2 separate regions of the Homo sapiens genome follow, and region 1 is linked to region 2. Evidence: promoter capture Hi-C in human tissues and cell types (Jung and others, 2019). All regions are on one chromosome and are shown on one strand. Each heading gives the region's core, a stretch centred on a gene start or on the middle of the fragment in contact. The rest is flanking DNA. Distances are from core to core; before and after follow the strand shown.

Evidence for each region. The method cuts DNA at HindIII sites, captures the fragments that hold promoters and counts their contacts. A contact is called where the count stands out against the background at its distance.
Region 1: a fragment that was not itself captured here is called in contact with the fragment with the promoter of CALU in region 2 in 1 of the 25 tissues and cell types used here (hippocampus).

What each region holds. Positions count from the first base shown.
Region 1 is chr7:129,296,084-129,299,929 of GRCh38, reverse strand. All of the region lies in intron 1 of AHCYL2 (adenosylhomocysteinase like 2), which reads right to left. Among named protein-coding and RNA genes, the nearest start is that of AHCYL2, 73 kb to the right of the region's middle. The HindIII fragment of the contact is 3,657 bases long and covers 1-3,459 here.
Region 2 is chr7:128,737,438-128,741,464 of GRCh38, reverse strand. It overlaps CALU (calumenin), which reads right to left and starts at 2,106. Exons shown (of 7, transcript NM_001219.5): 1 at 2,033-2,106. RefSeq lists an enhancer at 1,770-1,869 and silencers at 2,150-2,289, 2,360-2,499. The HindIII fragment of the contact is 3,801 bases long and covers 466-4,027 here.

The DNA.
Region 1 (3,846 bases), core at 382-2,881, 560 kb before region 2:
AAAGAGTCTTCTCCTTTAAAAAATTATTTCAGTGTTTTGAACTTAAATTATCTAAACCGTGGGTATATAATCAAACCACAACAGGTCATGATCCTACATGTGTGGGTAAAGAATCATCTTCCACATATACAAAGTTCTGTACTTCTATGCCATGTGGTTGGTGATGAGATGGAACAGGTACAACACCCCTCTGACAAGTTTTCTTTGTTACGGAAGTACTCCTAAAAGTTGGAATCTGGCTGGGCGTGATGGCTCATGCCTGTAATCCCAGCACTTTGGGAGGCCAAGGCGGGTGGATCACGAGGTAAGGAGATCGACACCATCCTAGCTAACATGGTGAAACCCTGTCTCTACTAAAAATACAAAAAATTAGCACGGCGTGGTGGCGGGTGCCTGTAGTCCCACCTACTCGGGAGGCTGAGGCAGGAGAATGGCGTGAACCCGGGAGGCGGAGCTTGCAGTGAGCCGAGATCGCGCCACTGCACTCCAGCCTGGGGGACAGAGCGAGACTCCATCTCAAAAAAAAAAAAAAAAAAAAAAAAAAAAAAAAAAAAAAAAAACAAGTTGGACTCTCCCACCTCAGCCTCCTGAATAGTTGAAACTACAGGTGAGCCACTATGCCCGGATAGTTTTTTGTTTTTTTTTTTTTGGTAGAGGAGGGGACTTGCTATGGTTCCCAGGCTGCTCTCAAACTCCCAGCCTCAAGCGATCTTCCCATGGGATCACAGACATGGACTACCATGCCCCATAGTTTCTACATTTTTAAATGGTTGAAAAATTTCCAGTCTGTCCCTGATTCTCCCCCCAAAAATGTCAAAAAATTTAAAAAAGAACAATATATCATGGCACATGGAAATTGTATCAAATTCAAATTTTTGGTTTCCATTAAGTATTTTTGGAACTCATTCATTTATGTATTGCCTATATACTTTTTTTCGCTACAATAACAGGTTTGAGTAGTTACAACAAAAAACATATAGCCTGCAAAGCCTAAAACACTTACCATCTGAGCCTTTACAGAAAAAGCTTGCCTACCTTTAGACCAAGAAAAGTTTTATTTTATTGTATAATTCAGTAATGATTGTGATAATTATTTCCAAACAGGCAAAAGAGGTGAAACTAACAGCAATTTGGAAAATAATGACCTTAATTATAAATAACAAAGCTTAAACAGTTTAATATAATACATAAAATAGACAAATCACTTGGTAGAATGACAAATATCAAACAAACACTGCAAATGTGCTGCTTTGGTTTGGTTCTTGTAAGGCCTTACGTTGCTTCTTTTCCATTATCCCCCAAGCAAAGTTTAGGAAAAAACTCCAAAATCCTTCTGGGAATTTTAGGAAAAGCTACATAGAGGTATTTTAGTCACTACAACCCTGCCTAAGTACTTTCCATAGCTGTTATATGTTTCAAGAAAACAAAACAAAAAACCAGGTGTCCTCATGAAATGCCAAGTGAATTGCGGCCAGCAGGTGGAGACAGTTTCTAATCAAAGCAGAGAAGCAAAATTTGATACCAGTTGTAACGGAAATTTAAACTATCTTCATATCCTTACCTTGAAATATTTAGTTAACTAGATAAGACAAAGTGATTTTCTCCTTCCCTTGTTCAACAATAAAACCAGGCTACCTTGTATTTCCTAAATCAGATTTCACTAAGGAATCAGAAATAGGCTGGCTGGTGAATACCCCACTCCCTATATAATATGAACCTAATTTATAAGTTTTTCCTCTCTTGCCATTAGAAAAGGAATATTTTCTGATCGTTTTCTCTCAATGAGGTTAGAGTCTTTCCTATCAAATTAAACCACAGGCTTTCTTGTCTATAGTTACCCTCTAGCTATCTGATTATATAAACTGGGAATGACTATTTCAGCAGGTAATGATTTGTTTATTTGGAGACAGGATCTCGCTGTCACCCAAGCTGGAATGCAGGGGCAGGATCATGGCTCACTGCAGCCTCAACCTCCCCAGCTCAAGCAATCCTCCCACCTAAGACTCCTGAGTAGCTGACACTATTAGTGGATTAGTCCACCACCATGTCGGGCTAATTTTTAATTTTTTTTAGAGACTGGCTCTCCCTATGTTGTCCAGGCTGGTCTCAAACTCCCAGGTTCAAAGGATCTTCCCATGCCTTGGCCTCCCAAAGTGCTGGGATTACAAGCATGAGCCACTGCATCCAGCCAGGTAATGATTTTGATTACAGCTCTCAATTACCCTATCAAACACCATATACTTTCACTCATTAAAAAAAAATTCTTCTCAAAAATTTTTCTCATTTTATAAACAAGAAAAAAGTTACTTTTCCATACTACAAATGACAGGAATAGAATGGTGGTTCCAACTTCGGGACCCGTAGTCCAGAGCTACGTAGAAATTTCTAGCAGTCTATAGGAGGAAGGAGACCAATTAGGTCTCAAGCAAAGGCATTCTAAATTTCCTATCTCAACATGTGACACTTCTGCTCCCCAAGCACCAGTGCTCTGGAGCTGTTCGCTAGTTTTCCAAAGCTCCCAACAGTCGCTTCTCCCTTGGGGCCTGTCTACCCTATGCTTTTTCAGTACCTTTAATTTCAGCAGTATGCACAACTCAGCCCGGTCCTAAGATGAAGTTTACTTCAAAGCAAAGCATACTAGAGTGCAAAGGACTCACAGGCAACCACTGACACCATCATTAACCAGGGGACATAGCACTACAAAAAATTTGTAATTGGAATAAACAGTGATGTTTTCAGAAATTCCTCCTCTTTGGAGCAGCCACCTCTCTACAATCCTTTTACCTTTCACATCCCCAATCACCCTACTTAAAGTCACACAATGTGCCAAGGCTACAATAGATCAGTGTGCATGTGTACACACAGTCTTCACAAGTTGGCTACCCACTTCAGAAAGGTTGACATATATTAAATCTCAAAAAGAATATAAACTTTAAGCTTCCGAAAACTCTAACTCACCAAGCAAGGGTAAGGACTCCAACTGAGCCAATTTAGTTTAATTCTCCTTTATAAGGCTATTTTCAGAAACCATTTGAGTATTGTTTTAAACTACCTAGTATCAGAATGTCCTGAAATTTTTACTTAATTTACCTTCCAGATTATGTGAAAAATAGGTATAAGCATCCTAACCTTTCCATTTTAATAAACCAGGCATTTACTCTCTATCAACTGCATGGACCATTCTAGGAAGCCAAAATTTCTTATTTATTTTTATTTTTTAGAGACAGGGTCTCACTCTGTCAACCAGGATAGAGTACAGTGACATGATCATAGCTCACTGTAGCCTTGAACTCCTGGGCTGAAGGGATCCTCCTACGTCAGCCTCCCAAGTAGCTGGACTACAGGCATGTGTTACATGCCCAACTAATTTTTTAATTTTTTTAAGTAGAGATGGGGTCTCAGTATGTTGCCCAGGCTGGTCTTGAACCCCTCAGCTTGAGTGATCCTCCCACCTCAGTCTCCCAAAGTGCTGCGATTATAGGCGTGAGCCACCATACCTGGCCCCAAAATATTTAAATCCAATGAATGCCAACATAACACCAGAAAATAATTTTGTCTTTCTTCCCCTGATGTTTGTGATTCTTTGGGAAAGTACTTAATTGGAAGAAAAGTCTGTGGTTGATGGAATATTAAGGTGTACAGAGGTTACTCACTGGCTCCCTTTATGCAACCTCTCTTCTACTCTTCCTATTATTTCCTTGATTTTTTACTTCCATCTAAATGTGTTTTCTCCTAAATATAGTGATAAGAATTTTAAGTAACTATCATAGGGGTAATCCTACATGATTCCTCCAAAATGAGACTCATCTAATCACACTTCTAAAGTCTCCAATGAGTTGGAATAAC
Region 2 (4,027 bases), core at 857-3,356:
TAGAATCGACATTTCTGGAAGAATGTCTACATATCATTCTAATACAAATTATTACCCCTATATTGTCCCTAATACATTGTCTTGCACTTTTTTGATACCAATACATTTTACTGGATTAATACATCTTACTGAATTAATTGGGCGGTACTTGGCAGCAATGTGGTTCCTGCCTGCCTGTGTTCTCCAACTTCCAATTCCGTTTACTGGATCTGGCAATCAGCCAGGAACAGGCAAAAGTGTTATTTCAGCTGTCTTAACTCTAATACATAAATTACTGCATCAGCAACATCCATACTTAAGAGTTCAGAGAGTGAGAATCTAGGGCCTTGTGGCCTAGCTAGCATTTCCAGTGGCTATCCTTGGCTACACCTCTGTCCTTTCAATATCCCTGGTATACCTACGTTACAGAAAATCTGTGTTAACACCAATGTACTAGGGTGTGGTGTTATATACCTCTAGTCTCAGCTACTTGGGAGGCTGAGGCAGGAGGACTGCTTGAGCATGGGAGTTCAAGGCTCCACCTGGTCAACATACTGAGACCCTCAACTCTAAAATAAATAAATTTTAAAAAATAACACCAATATATAGATCCCAATACTGCTCTAATGGATATTAAGTGCTATCAATAAGTACTTCTTGACACATCACTGGATGAATGAAAACAAACAATGATTACATTGAGAGTGACAATGAGTTGGTTTCAAAGCTATATTGAGTACTATTCACTCAGGCATACTCAATACATTTTTGTGAGCTCATGGCTTTCCTACTTGTGATTCTCAAAAGAATCCTATTGGAACCCCCCCACCCCCCAATCACAGTAAAACCTCAGATTAGGTCTTGGCAAACTCATTTTCTTGACAAATACAACTTAGAGGTTATATCTGGTCCCTCATTTGGATTATACTATATAAATTCTTCAGTGATTACTGTCGTTTGGTATTTGGTTAATTAAATCTACTGAGTGAGGTCAAACTTGCATTTGTCTTGTGTCAAGTTCCATTCTATGGCAGACTAATTTAACAGAGATTCCAAGGTTCTCTGCCTCCAAGCTGAATAAGCTACTAGAACAAAAAACAACTAGAAGCCACCTTATTCCCAATTCATTAACGTTGACTTCATGGTCCACACCAGAAAATGAACGCAACTCAATTCTCGAAGACACTATTCTAGAATTTTATACACTTAGGAATTCAGATCACAGGCTCAAAAGTTTTAGCAGGAGACCCACGGAGCTTGGGCCTTGATGCAAAAGCAGCTTTTGAAACTGCAAGCCACTCTACGCTTAATCGCGGCAGCTATAGGGAATTAAGTTTATTTCTGACCGCAGCATGCTAAAAATCAGTAGGATATGGGGCTAGAAGCAACAAAAAACGTAACAAAAATTAATTCCCCAATAAAGCTTTAAAAACTATTTTCCGTCGCTAACTGAAGTACGTAGCCAAATATGGAAGCTCTAAACATTCAGCTTTTCTTTAAAATCATAGATATCACCTAGTGTCGTCACTCGTTCTCTCCCCCCTTGTTTCTGCACCCTTTAGGTGAGTGAACACGACCTTGGCAGATGCACCCTACTGTCGGGATGTGGCCTTGGGGCGGAGCTGGCAGATACAAGCAGGATGGTGAGTGGAGGCGGCAAGGAACTCTTACAATAACACTATCCAAATGCCCTCCGACCTTCCGGAGGCAAAAAATGACCCTCTGGTGCCAGAGACTCGGTGAGTGGCGTGACCTAGAGATGGAGGACCAGGACGCAGCAAACCAGGCACAGAACAGTACCCAACGGGACAGAGTTCCACCGGACCAGCCCCCTTCCCAGAGCGCGCGGTAAGACGGGCGGCGGCCTCCATCCCAGGCTGCACACAGAGGGTCCCGGGATCTCCAGCAGCATCAGGCCTGGGACCCGGGCGCCAGCAGAGACAGCGGCACCGAGTGAGGCAGTCCCCTGCCGCGCCAAGAACAAGACCGGGGACAGAAAGAAAGCGAATAAAGATGAGGCAGTGGTGAAGGGGCTGGGCATCACCGTACTTACCTTTCCTCGTAGCCCCCACAGCACAGGATGCCGTGGCCGCCGCTCACCCACCGGCTCAGCTCACGCGCGCAAGCACCGCCCAACCGGAAGCGGGTCCGCACCCCGCCCTCATCCGCCTCGCCGGCGGCCTCCCGACCAATCATCAGCAAACCCGCCGCTGTCGCATAGCGTCCCCGAGTAGCCATTGGTCTAACAATCGCATAGCCGGGATTGGCTGGAAAGCGCCACGTCCCCGGGACCGCGCCGAGTTGCGTGGAGCGGATTCCCGCCCAACTCTCGTCCCCGGGATTGTTGGGACGGCGGGCTCCAGCCCCAGCCCCAGCCCCAGCCCCGTACTGCGGGTGGCGTGGGCGCGGCCGTGTGGCCGCCACGTCCCCATTCACAGCTCATGACTCTGCTTCCACAGGGCTTCTTAGACTATCCTGCTAGTTATCTTCATTCCCACAAGACCACCAGGGCGGAATTAATCCGACTGAATCAGTCACCAACTTTATTGAACAATCCCAACTTTTTCTTTCCCTTCAGCGCTGCGCCCTGCGCTATCTACAGGAGGCTCTTCAGTCTTTGGCACCAGTGTATCTTTTAGCTCCATCTCCCAACACTCCCCCTCATCTTGCGCTCTGGGCACCATCATCTGTTTCCTAACAACCGGTCCTTTTTCATCTCTTAAGATTTTTGATCAAGAGGCTTCCTCTGCCAGGAATAAGTGCGTTTTCCTGATTTTCTGCCTTGCCAATAGAAGTCCCAGTTCAGATGTTAGCTCTAGAAGCCTTCCCTGACCTCACTAAGCATAATTCTTACCTTATTTACCATCATAGCTGTTTATAGCTTCAGTACACTTTGCCAAATTCTGCTATAAAATGTAGCTTATCCATCTGTCCTCTTCTAGAGTAAGCTCCTGGGTAGGTATCTGTCTATTCATCTTTATATCTGCAACTCTGAGCTTACTGCCCAGCTCAGTAATGTTAAGTGAAGGGAATGGGCCGAACCCGTTGCATGTCCCTGAAAATTTAATTTCATGTCATGAAATTAAAACAAATATCAAATAAAGGCTACTATAGCTTCAACACAAATGGAATGTAAACCTGTGGCATTCTTAGCACATAAAGCCTCTGTAGTTTAAAATCAAATTGAGACAAGTTGTAAACTCATGAAACAGTTAAGCTCATGAAAGCAAGCTAGTTACTGTCAACGTGAAAGGTTTACAACTAATCCTTCTGGCATTCAAAGGAGTGTCAGTGACCCTTGGTGGTAGTCAGGGAAGGCTTCAGAGGAAGATATGACTAAGGCTGGACTAAGGAAGTCCCAAATGGACTATTCAGCAAGAAGAGTAATAGGAATAAGGACAAGTGGAGGGCAGAGTGGGAGGTAAATTCTCAGGCCAGGTAGCAAATGAGGAAGGTTAAAAAAAGGGGTGGGGGGAAACAATGAAAGAAAAGCATGGATAGTAAGTTTGGAGAGGTAATGGAAGATCTTGTCAATTTGAGGAACCTGAACTGAAGACAGTGGGAACTGTGGGTCTTCCTGGGAAAGTTTCTAAGCTTGTGCCTACAGGGAAGCCATCTAATGGGTATTAACAATAAAACAGGCTACCTCAGGAGGCATTATTTCGAAAACAGTTTTTAAAATACCTCCTTAAGGATCACTTGAGGCCAGGAGTTTGAGACCAGCCTGGGCAAAATAACGAGACCCTTCCTCCCCCTATCTCTACAAAAAAACAAAAACTAAAAATTAGCTGGGTGTGGTGGCACACACATGTAGTTCAAGCTAGTTGCTTGAGCCCAGGAGGTTGAGGCTGCAATGAACTATGACTGTACCACTTCACTCCAGCCTGGGCAACAGAGCAAGACCCTTTCTCTTAAAAAATAAAAATAACAACTCCTTAAGGTCAGGCACTGTGTTATGTGCTGGTGAACCCAAAGTAAACAGGACATCGTCCCTGTCCTCAAGGAACTCAGCTTAATGGTGCGCCATCCATCCTGGAATTGTCCTAGT